Regions from separate parts of the Homo sapiens genome. Here regions 1 and 3 are each linked to region 2. Evidence: promoter capture Hi-C in 16 types of primary human blood cells and fetal thymus (Javierre and others, 2016). All regions are on one chromosome and are shown on one strand. The core of a region is centred on a gene start or on the middle of the fragment in contact, and the rest is flanking DNA. Distances in the headings are between cores, read along the strand shown.

Region 1 (4,080 bases), core at 1,581-4,080, 170 kb after region 2:
GCTTTCCTTTATTATTGCACTGTGTGAGGTTTTTTTGTAAATCCTTGTATTCCTATTTTTTTTAAAGAAAAAAAAAAAACCTTAAGCTGCATTTGTTACTGAAATGATTAATGCACTGATGGGTCCTGAATTCACCTTGAGAAAGACCCAAAGGCCAGTCAGGGGGTGGGGGGAACTCAGCTAAATAGACCTAGTTACTGCCCTGCTAGGCCATGCTGTACTGTGAGCCCCTCCTCACTCTCTACCAACCCTAAACCCTGAGGACAGGGGAGGAACCCACAGCTTCCTTCTCCTGCCAGCTGCAGATGGTTTGCCTTGCCTTTCCACCCCCTAATTGTCAACCACAAAAATGAGAAATTCCTCTTCTAGCTCAGCCTTGAGTCCATTGCCAAATTTTCAGCACACCTGCCAGCAACTTGGGGGAATAAGCGAAGGTTTCCCTACAAGAGGGAAAGAAGGCAAAAACGGCACAGCTATCTCCAAACACATCTGAGTTCATTTCAAAAGTGACCAAGGGAATCTCCGCACAAAAGTGCAGATTGAGGAATTGTGATGGGTCATTCCCAAGAATCCCCCAAGGGGCATCCCAAATCCCTGAGGAGTAACAGCTGCAAACCTGGTCAGTTCTCAGTGAGAGCCAGCTCACTTATAGCTTTGCTGCTAGAACCTGTTGTGGCTGCATTTCCTGGTGGCCAGTGACAACTGTGTAACCAGAATAGCTGCATGGCGCTGACCCTTTGGCCGGAACTTGGTCTCTTGGCTCCCTCCTTGGCCACCCACCACCTCTCGCACAGCCCCTCTGTTTTTACACCAATAACAAGAATTAAGGGGGAAGCCCTGGCAGCTATACGTTTTCAACCAGACTCCTTTGCCGGGACCCAGCCCGCCACCCTGCTCGCCTCCGTCAAACCCCCGGCCAATGCAGTGAGCACCATGTAGCTCCCTTGATTTAAAAAAAATAAAAAATAAAAAAAAAAGGAAAAAAAAATACAACACACACACAAAAATAAAAAAAATATTCTAATGAATGTATCTTTCTAAAGGACTGACGTTCAATCAAATATCTGAAAATACTAAAGGTCAAAACCTTGTCAGATGTTAACTTCTAAGTTCGGTTTGGGATTTTTTTTTTTTAATAGAAATCAAGTTGTTTTTGTTTTTAAGGAAAAGCGGGTCATTGCAAAGGGCTGGGTGTAATTTTATGTTTCATTTCCTTCATTTTAAAGCAATACAAGGTTATGGAGCAGATGGTTTTGTGCCGAATCATGAATACTAGTCAAGTCACACACTCTGGAAACTTGCAACTTTTTGTTTGTTTTGGTTTTCAAATAAATATAAATATGATATATATAGGAACTAATATAGTAATGCACCATGTAACAAAGCCTAGTTCAGTCCATGGCTTTTAATTCTCTTAACACTATAGATAAGGATTGTGTTACAGTTGCTAGTAGCGGCAGGAAGATGTCAGGCTCACTTTCCTCTGATTCCCGAAATGGGGGGAACCTCTAACCATAAAGGAATGGTAGAACAGTCCATTCCTCGGATCAGAGAAAAATGCAGACATGGTGTCACCTGGATTTTTTTCTGCCCATGAATGTTGCCAGTCAGTACCTGTCCTCCTTGTTTCTCTATTTTTGGTTATGAATGTTGGGGTTACCACCTGCATTTAGGGGAAAATTGTGTTCTGTGCTTTCCTGGTATCTTGTTCCGAGGTACTCTAGTTCTGTCTTTCAACCAAGAAAATAGAATTGTGGTGTTTCTTTTATTGAACTTTTAACAGTCTCTTTAGTAAATACAGGTAGTTGAATAATTGTTTCAAGAGCTCAACAGATGACAAGCTTCTTTTCTAGAAATAAGACATTTTTTGACAACTTTATCATGTATAACAGATCTGTTTTTTTTCCTTGTGTTCTTCCAAGCTTCTGGTTAGAGAAAAAGAGAAAAAAAAAAAAGGAAAATGTGTCTAAAGTCCATCAGTGTTAACTCCCTGTGACAGGGATGAAGGAAAATACTTTAATAGTTCAAAAAATAATAATGCTGAAAGCTCTCTACGAAAGACTGAATGTAAAAGTAAAAAGTGTACATAGTTGTAAAAAAAAGGAGTTTTTAAACATGTTTATTTTCTATGCACTTTTTTTTATTTAAGTGATAGTTTAATTAATAAACATGTCAAGTTTATTGCTGCACATGGTTAAGCTTCCTTTTGGCTTTGGTTGGAGAGGGTGGAGAAAAGCGGGAGGGGCATGGCCTGTGACCTGGTCACAAAGTACCTTCCACAGTCCTTTACTTTAAGGTGGCATCACTAAATTATTCCCTGTAGCCCACCTTCAGGTCCACTCCACACTGGCTCTCTTGACTATTTTCTTCCTTTATTCATCAGTGATGTATGTTCAGGACCTAATTAATTGTGGATATGAGGCAGGGTCAAGAGGACAAAGGAACAGGGCCTTTACCTTCTACATAGCTCCCCTGTTTCATCCAAGGAGGTTAAGTATTGATTTTTATCGGTTTTCTCAACTGTGAATATAATAAACTGAAAGCATTTCAGGGAGAAGCTGGAGAACACCTTCTCTAGCTGCACTCCACCTTAAGGCTGAAGCTGGATTTGTTTACTGTTTCTCCTGGGGGCAGGGGCAGTTGAGAAATAACCAAGTAGTCTGCCAAGCCAGGGTCAACCCTCCAGGCCACAGGTTGAGCAAATGCTACAGCCATGGACAGGGAGACACTCCTCACGAAGGGGTGGTCCTCATCCTTTCAGATCAACTTCCTGCTGGAGGCTCCACCCTCACCACGTCCCTCCCTCTTCTCTCATCTGGAGTCACCTTTTGGGATTTTGGAGTTGAGCACCATGGGGACTCCAAATGATCAGGCAGTGCTGCAGGCCATCTTCAACCCTGACACCCCATTTGGAGACATTGTTGGATTGGACCTCGGAGAGGAAGCAGAAAAGGAAGAACGAGAAGAAGGTGGGCATTTGATCTGGAGTGTAGCTCTGCACATAGGCTGGCCTGCTGGCCTCCCGAGGTAGCAGAGAGGGAGGTGGTTTTATAAGGCCCCTTGTTCCATGATTATGATTGAGATTGGAATCAGAGAGGTTGGCTGCTCCTTAGCGCACTGATGGGGGTTTGGTAAGAGATGTCCTGCCAAGAGGAGTAAGCTGGGGTTTGTCTCTCGATCCATCAGCTCTCATGCCTCTGAACTTACCACTTAATTGACTGTATGATCCAAGCTTAACTGCCAGGTGATGTTAAACTCTCACATTTTTGTCATAACAGAGAATACCACCACCAGAACAGAAGACTGAAATAAGGCAGGGCATGGTTGCTCAGTTGAGTGGTTCCAATATAGCAAGCACAACCAGTAACCGTTAAACACTGTCACAAGCCAAGCTCCAAACTAACTCTTCCGCAGTGAGTGCGTTCACTGGCTTTTCCATTAATCCCTAATGAAGGAGTTTTTGATCCTTTGTTTCTAGAGGAGTAAAGCCTACACCTTACTAACTCAGGCCGAAACACAGAGGGATACGTCAGAAGTGATGTTCATGATCTGGGAATGTCATGGTGGCCTTTGCATAAGAGGCGGTGTAGTAGAGTAAAATGCAGACAGGAGCCAGAATGACCTGGGTTCAAATCCAAGCTCTGCAACGTATGGCCTGTTGAGGCCATACACAAAGAACTTGAGCAACTTCTTTAACAGATTGAGGAGTCTGGGCTTCATTCTCTTGGCAATGGGGAACCAACCAAGGCCCCTTCCCAGGTCTCTTGGAACTCAGGCAATGCTAGCTCCCAGCCTTAGTGACCTCATCTCCCCCTACCCCAAACACTGCAACTGACCCCTGCTGTGACCCATACCCAGTCAGCTCTGGCTCAGATCTCAGAATTCCAAAGCCTGAGGTGGCTTTTTCTTCTTGCTACCAACTGCACACCTGGCTTCTCCTGGCTCCTTCCCTGGCCCAGATGAAGTTTTCCCTCAAGCACAGCTGGAACAGTCCAAGGCCCTGGAGCTGCAGGGGGTGATGGCAGCAGAGGCTGGGGACCTCAGCACAGCCCTGGAGAGGTTTGGCCAAGCCATCTGCCT
Region 2 (4,101 bases), core at 433-2,932:
ACGTTTTCAAGGTTCATCAATGTTTCAGCGTGTATCAGAACTTCATTCTTTTTCAAGGCTGAATAAGTCATCTGTAGCTATATACCATATTTTGTTTATGCATTCATCTGTTAATGAACATTCTGGGTTATTTCTACCTTTTGGTTATTATGAATAGTGCTACTGTAAATATATGTATACAAGTATCTGAGTTCCTGCTTTCAGTTATTTTGAACATCTATATCAAAGCGGAATTGCTTGATCATGTGGTTATACTATGTTTAACTTTTTGAGGAATCATCAAACTGTTTTTCCAAAAAGTCTGGACTATTTAACATTGCCATCAGCAACGCATACGGTTTCAATTTCTCCACATCTGCCAACAATTACTTTCCTTTTTTTTTATAGTAGCCATCCTAGTAGGTATTAAGTGGTATCTCATGATTTTTTTTTTCATTTCCCTAAAGACTAGTGGTGTTGAGCACTCTTTCATATGCTTATCCACCATTTGTACAGTTGGCCTTCCATATCTGTGGGCTCTGCATCTGTGGCTTCAACCAACCATGAATTGGAAATATTCCAAAACAAATTTCATCTGTATTGAACATGTACAGACTTTTTGTCATTATTCCCTAAACAATACAACACTATTTAGATTTATGTTGTATTAGGTATTATAAGTGATCTAGAGATGACTTAGTCATCTCTAGGATGACACAGGAGGATGTGCATAGGTTATATGCAAATACTGCATCATTTTATGTAAGGAACTTGAGCATCCTTGGATTTTGGTACCCAAGGGGGTCCTGAAACAAATCCCCCACAGATACCAAGTGGATAGTCATTCTCTTGGAATGTATCTTCTTTGGAGAAATGTCTATTCAAGTCCTTTGCCCTTTTTTGAACTGAACTGTTTGGGGGTTTTTCGTTCTTGTAGTTCTTTACATATTCTAGAGATGAATCCTTTATCAGATATATGAGTTGCAACTATTTTCTCTCAATCTGTGAATTTTCACTTGCACAGCGCTTTTAACTCTTGAAAATTATGCTGCTTCTATTATTTATGTGTATCCCGATCTCTTGCCCTCGTGACCCGCCCGTCTCAGCCTCCCAAAGTGCTGGGACTACAAGGCGTGAGCCACTGTGCCTGGCCATCTATGTGTATCTCAAAACAACCTTGTAGGATGTATACTGTCTCCACTTTACAGATAAGAAAACTGAAATCCAATCAAAGATAGCACACTCCAAAGATTGCTCCAAAGACAGCACAACAATAACAAACTTGTAGTTGTTATTGCTGTTAGTGTTATCCCTTTGAATAATAGAGAGTAACAGAAGCTGCTTCAAAAAGGTCTAGGACTGGTGGGAAAATAAGAGAGCAGACCCCCAACAGAGGTTGCGAGCAGAGCCAGGGATCACAGAGTTTTATCTGCCCTCGGTACGCTGATTTCCAAAACCCAGCCTCATATTCTATACTCCAAAGCGCACTGCCAGGTGGGCCAACTCCAGCCCCCACAATCCGATGCCAAGGCCACTTCTTGCCACTTCCTGCCCGCCTCCAGCCCGCCCCTAACAAGCTAGCGCATGCGCTGTAGGACTATTTGCGCGCCGTTCCCCCCGGTGAGCCTGCACACCGTGCTTCCGGCGCGGAGATGAACTTCCACATGCCCCGGCGCTTGTTGATGACGTAACTTCCGGTTGCTGTGCTGAGTCGGAAGTGGGAACCCTTCGGCCGCTGAGATTCTGTCGTGTCGTCGCTGCTGGCACTTCAGGCTCTGGTAAGACAGGCAATAGCTTCAGGGGACGGGGTCGTTGACTTTGCGTTGTGATATTTTCTGCTGGTCCAATGCCACTTCAAGCCTGTTCACTCTTATCTTCTCCAAATTCCTTCTCCTATGCTTTGCTAACCAGGGACCTTCTCCTTCTTGAACTTCGACCCTGTCTGATTTGGAACCCCTTACAGTGCCCCAGCTTCTGATGTCTCTTTGTACATTTCTGTCCCCATCTTTGCCAAGCCCCTCCTGGAAGAGGCCGGAGCGCTATCATTGCATTATCTTTTGACTTAACTTTCTCTAGAACGTGCCCCGGGCGGGTGGATCTCCCTCCTTCCCGCGAATCCCTTATGGAGCATGGAAGGATAAAATATAAAGAGTAGATAACAAATAGGCAGATGCCAAGAAGATAAGATTAATCGTGAGTCGTAAGCAAACCAGTTCAATGCATACGTCAGGGTGTTGATAATTCTTAAGGCAGGTGATGAGTTCACCACAGATAACTCTTGGGGCACTCTGCTTCATGTTTCCTTGGGTTTAGAAGACACTTCTAAAATTGAGTGACCATGCCTCATGACCTTATATTTGATGAGCCTTCCTTTTAGGATCAGTTTTATGCCCTGACAGCAAGCATGTGTTTAGTCTCGCTGTCATTTACTGTTTTGGTCTCACGTGGAAGCCCACCTGCGATAAAATGGGATCCAAGAAGGACTGCTGTCTGCTTTTTGACTTGAGATCCTTCTAGGCTGCAGATAGATGTGTTGATGGAATTTGTTGCCACATTAGCATGGCCTGATAGTGTTAGGTGAAACATACGACAACGAAAATTGTTTCTTAATTTCTATTTTAAATTGATATTTTAATTTCTATTTTATATTGATATATGTATTATTTGCCAGGACACAGACCTTATGGGAGTATGATTTGATAGAGCTTGATTTTGACGATCCCAGTTTTACAAAGTGTTCCAGATATTTCTGTTGAAAAACAATACCAAGTCTGATGTTAACACACTTGTGTGTTCATGAGAGCTGACAGTGGTCTTAAAGGATTAGTGGTACTATTCATAAACAAAAGCTTGTATTAGGAGGAAGTGACAGAATTTTGTAGGACAGCTATTATAGATATAGATCTTTGCAGCAAGTGTATCAGAGTGAAACTTGTTTTCAAGGAGGATATATTTTAAAAGAATCAAATCCAAAAGCTTCTAAGGTTGGTAGCTGTACCATCCCAAAGTGTCTGACAACAGGATAGTGTTGTATCTCTGTATGGCAGTTGAAAATAGGAAAAAAAATACATACATATATGTATGTATATATGTGTGTGTGTGTGTGTGTGTATTTTTTTTTTTTTTTTTTTGAGACAGAGTCTGGCTCTGTCACCCAGGCTCTGCTCTGGAGTGCAGTGGCACGATCTCAGCTCACGGCAACCTCCATCTCCCAGTTTAAAAGTGATTCTCCTGCCTCAGCCTCCCAAGTAGTGGGATTACAGCCTGGCTAAGGTGTGGTGGTATGCGCCTGTAATCGCTTTTAGTGGAGACGGGGTTTCACCACATTGGCCAGGCTGGTCTCAAACTCCTGACTTCAAGTGATCTGTCTGCCTTGGCCTCCCAAAGTGCTGGGATTACAGGCATGACCTACTGCGCCCGGCGCTGAAAATAGGAGATTATAAATCCCGAATGACATTATTGAATATTAAACAAAATATTTAGGTTTCATTTTATCGGACCTTTAGAGTGGGTGATTATCTGGGTACTCTTACTTTGGTAAGTCCATTGAACAAATCTAAACTGGCATCTCCACAAAGGTTCTCATCAAGTGATCAGTCCTCCTTTTTCCTGTAAAATTTTTCTATAAGTGACTACACAGTTTTAGCCCTTTTTTAATGAAAAAAAGTTTGTGCACAGATTTGACATACGTGTGAAAAAGATGAGCTTAGTGAAAGATAGGTGAGAACCTTTTTGTTTTTTACAGATAGTAGAGATGACAACAGAGACTTATTTCCATCCACCATTCTACACATGCCAAGATACCAAAGAACCAGTGTCTAGCCTGGTAGCTTGACCTTCCACTGCAACCTAAGACAAGTAGTAAAGCCCTTACCTTGAAGTAGGGTCATGGGTGATGCTGTTGATTACAAGGAGTTCAGAAAGAACTACATGTAAGATTGAAGCCATTCAATAACTACTTATTTAGGATTTTGTGATTGTGATGTATAATGCCAGACACAGAAGAAAGAATAATCAGATATGAACATGTAATCAGAAGAGCTTACAGCCTAGCAATGTAGAAGATCTGCTTAGAAATACAATGCAGAAAGTTTAAAATCCTAGTAAAAATAGAGGTAAAAT
Region 3 (3,618 bases), core at 855-3,354, 190 kb before region 2:
TGTATTGCCCCTCTTCCCTGCTGTTTCTCCCTTCCCAGGGCACAGATTCTAGAATCTCTTCATCTTCCCCAACTGTAGCCTTGGAAGCAGTGTCTTGCAGAGGTGGAATTAGATGCACCAAAAAGTTAATCTTGGTCCCTACAGTGCCAACCTGGCAGTCCCCAGTGCTTATGGCTTTGTGTATATCCCCAGTGCCCGGCACAGTGCCTGGCACATAATAGATGCTCAATAAATGGTTGCTGAATTGAAGCAAATTAAGCTGAATCTCCCAGATGATATTGCTGTCTCCCCAAATTGGCAATCTGATGGGCAGAGGCAGGGATTGGTCCCTGAGACTGTCACGGTCCTGTCTCCACCCCCTTTCCTAGACTTATTCCCTACCCTGGGCACCTGACTCCTTGAGTAGGGGTGGGGCAGAGCTCCTGGAAAGGCTGGGAAGTGCTGGGGCAGGGAATGGGGCATTTGCCAGCAGCTGTGCCCTTCACACTTGCTCCCTCCCTCCCTGCTTCCCTCCACTCCTCCTCAGTCCTGGCCAGAGGGGCTGGGCTCCTGGGAGGGGGCAGGGCTAGAGAAGCCCACCCCTCCAACTCGCCCCATCATAGACCAGGACACAGAGGCCCCTCCCACTGGGAAAATGATGGCTCTGTTGCTTCAAACTGGAGACTGAGGAGCCAGAGAAGAGGGCAGGACCCTCAGTTTCTGTCAGTTGGAACCTCAGTTTCCCCATTTTAAGTGAGTGACTTGGCTAGTTGATCTCTGAGGATCTTCCAAGGTCATGGTCTCAGAGTCAGTGTTTCTGCCTCTTGCTCCTTCTCTCAGGCCTAATCAATTTCCATTGAATGTGAGTGTAATGGCAGTGATGGTTGGCTCCGCACAATTGCCTTTTTTTTTTTTTTTTTTTTTTTTTGAGATGGAGTCTCTCTATGTCACCCAGGCTGAATTGCAGTGGCACTATCACTATCTCAGTTCACTGCAACCTCTGCTTCCCGGGCTCAAGCGATTCTCCTGCCTCAGCCTCCCAAATAGCTGGGATTACAGGCACACGCCACCACGCCCAGCTAATTCTTGTATTTTTAGTAGAGATGGGGTTTTGCCCATTTCTACTAAACAGATGGAGGTAATCCACCCGCCTTGGCCTCCCAAAGTGCTGGGATTACAGGCGTGAGCCACTGTGCCTGGCCTACAATTGTCACTTTTGTCCCCACGAAGGGAGTTGTTGGGAGAGGAGCGAGTAGTGTGGCTGCAGATGGGACAGGGCTGGCATTGGCAGCTCAGGTTCCAAGGCCTCCCCTTATGCCGGCCTCAGGCTTTCCCTTCCCTCTCTGTAGCCAAAAGCCAGGTGGAAACCCCACCAAGGGCAACTGGGAGAGTTCTCACTGAAGCCCCAAAGAAAGCTGCCCCACCCTGTGCATGGCCTCCTCATTTCCCAGCCTTGGCTGCCCCTGCCCAGGCGAGGGTGGTTACCCCATGGAGAAGGCAGAGCCTGCAGCAACCTGCATTCACCATGGAGCCCCACCCCTCAGCCCCTCAGCTGACTTTGAAACTGGCCTCTGTTGGTGGGTCCCCGCTGGGAAACATGGCCCCCTACCTGGAGCTGCTCTTCCAGTCTGGCCTCATCCACAGTCCTAAGGGATTAGGAGCCAACGGGAGCCCCAAGGAGGCCACTAGCAATGGAAACGAGGGCCCAACATGGCCTCCTGGGCCAGGGCACATGTCCAGCTTTGCCTGCAGCCCTGGCTTTCCGTCAGTGCCCTGGAATGCACAGTCATCCCTTTAACATGCCCCTCCAAGTTTCAGGAACTCATCGTCACCTCCAGCCTGATGGCTGCTCTGGGCTGGGAGCAGGGGAGGAGCACAGCCGTGCCAGGCCAAGGCCCTCCTGAGGGAGCGCTGTCAGCACAGGAAAGCCCTCCCTCCCCACCAGGTCCTCTCTGAAGCCACTGCCAGGCCAAGCACTGGGCAGGTGGACAGCGGCCCCCTCCTCTACCCCTGCCCACCCACTCCCTTCTCTCTGGGGACCCTCACATGTGCCTCCTGCCTCCCCCCAGGGACTGGCAGGTGGGAGCCCTTTCTCTCCTCTCCCCAGGGCCCACACGTCCCAGAGCATGGCAGGTTTCTCGGATGGAAGAGAGTGGGTCACTCTTGGTGCAGGGTGGGAGATACGAAGTCGGGGGTTCAGGAGGCCCCAGGTGGGCCCTGGGGTCCTAGGTCACGGGAAGCACACCAAGAGCGAGCAGGCAGGGTCACTGTACAGGGCGGAGAGGGGAGGAGACGGGACACGGGAGGCTGCAGGGCCGGCCACCCACTACTTGGCGCCATCATCCGGGTTGCCTTCACCGTCCGTCTTGCCCTCCTCCTCGGTCTTCAGGTCATCTGTGCTCAGCTTCTGCTCTTTTTTTCTCCTCACACACTTGACCACCATCAGCACCAAGATGACCACAGCCAGGAAGCCCCCGACGGAGGCACCCACAATCACGGCCACCGTGGAGTCCCGCTCAGGGGGCTCTGGAAAGGAAGCAGAGCCACTGAGCACCAGGGCTGGGAAAGGGGCCTCCCCCATCACCCCACTACCCGTGGCATGCGTGGAACCATCCTGACTTTACTCTCCTCCACAGACAGGACTTTAGCAAAGCCGAAAAGCAATCCAGTGACTGACCCTGAAGCGCCGCCACCTCCAAATCCCAGGACACCCAAAGCCCCCAGAGGAGCTAGTGTGATGAAGTATTTAAGAGCATGAACTTTAAGATCAAACAGACCCAAATTTGAGTCCTAATTGTACAACTTACGAATTGCGTGACCTTAAGTAACTTATCCTCTCTAACCTCAGTTTTCTAACATGTAAAATGGGCTTAATAATAGTACCTCCCTCAAAGGTTTTCATGAGGATGAGATAATGCATAAACAGAGCTTAGCCCTATGACTGAGACATAGAGGTGCCCAATAAATGAAAGCTGCCATCATCACCATCATTATTATTGCTGTTGTTGTCATTTGAAACAGGGTCTTGCTCTGTTGCCCAAGCTGGAGTGCAGTGGCACAATCATGATTCACTGCAGCCTCTACCTGCTGGGCTCAGATGATCCTCTCACCTCAGCCTCCCAAGTAGCTGGGAGTATAGGTGCAAGCCACCATGCCCAGCTAATTTTTGCATTTTCTGTAGAGATGGAGTTTTGCCATGTTGCCCAGGCTGGTCTCGAGCTCCTGAGCTCAAGCTATCTGCCTGCCTCAGCCTCCCAAAGCGCTGTGATTACAGGTGTGAGCCATCACACCAAGCCCCATTATTAAGACTGGGATTATATTCTGTATCATTACCAGGACTCTCTGGGACATGTTCCCAGGTTCTTGAGGACTAGAGGGAAGAAAATGGATTCCTTCTATGCAGCACAAATGGTTGCTCCCATCCTCAGGAGGGCCTGGCCTCCCCAAAGTGCCCTGAGCAAATGCCGCAGAGAGTAGGTGGGTGGGAAAGGTCAGGGCCCCGCAGCTGGCACCCCAGCCTTCACCTTCCATGAGGACCTGCAGATGGATCTTGCCATGGCCACGGTGGCGGTCAGGGGGGTTCATGATGTAGCAGTTGTAAATCCCCTCATCCTCCGGCTGCACGTTTCTCAGCATCAC

What was found. The method cuts DNA at HindIII sites, captures the fragments that hold promoters and counts their contacts. A CHiCAGO score of 5 or more calls a contact.
Region 1: a contact is called between the fragment with the promoter of TTC36 here and the fragment with the promoter of UBE4A in region 2, in 2 of 17 cell types (activated CD4 T cells and non-activated CD4 T cells). The highest score is 6.0, in activated CD4 T cells.
Region 3: a fragment that was not itself captured here is called in contact with the fragment with the promoter of UBE4A in region 2 in 6 of 17 cell types (neutrophils, activated CD4 T cells, M2 macrophages and 3 more); the score reaches 8.7 in neutrophils.

What each region holds. Positions count from the first base shown.
Region 1 is chr11:118,524,644-118,528,723 of GRCh38, forward strand. It overlaps TTC36 (tetratricopeptide repeat domain 36), which reads left to right and starts at 2,831. Exons shown (of 3, transcript NM_001080441.4): 1 at 2,831-2,969; 2 at 3,960-4,080. The coding sequence starts at 2,852. It overlaps KMT2A (lysine methyltransferase 2A), which reads left to right. Exons shown (of 36, transcript NM_001197104.2): 36 at 1-2,189. The region is part of intron 1 of TTC36-AS1 (TTC36 and KMT2A antisense RNA 1); the gene reads right to left. The HindIII fragment of the contact is 1,033 bases long and covers 2,198-3,230 here.
Region 2 is chr11:118,357,918-118,362,018 of GRCh38, forward strand. UBE4A (ubiquitination factor E4A) reads left to right here and starts at 1,683. Exons shown (of 20, transcript NM_001204077.2): 1 at 1,683-1,757. RefSeq lists an enhancer at 1,620-1,689. The HindIII fragment of the contact is 13,441 bases long and covers 1-2,826 here.
Region 3 is chr11:118,164,582-118,168,199 of GRCh38, forward strand. It overlaps SCN2B (sodium voltage-gated channel beta subunit 2), which reads right to left. Exons shown (of 4, transcript NM_004588.5): 3 at 3,504-3,618; 4 at 1-2,505. The coding sequence ends at 2,306. Among named protein-coding and RNA genes, the nearest start is that of SCN2B, 10 kb to the right of the region's middle. The HindIII fragment of the contact is 6,967 bases long and covers 1-3,618 here.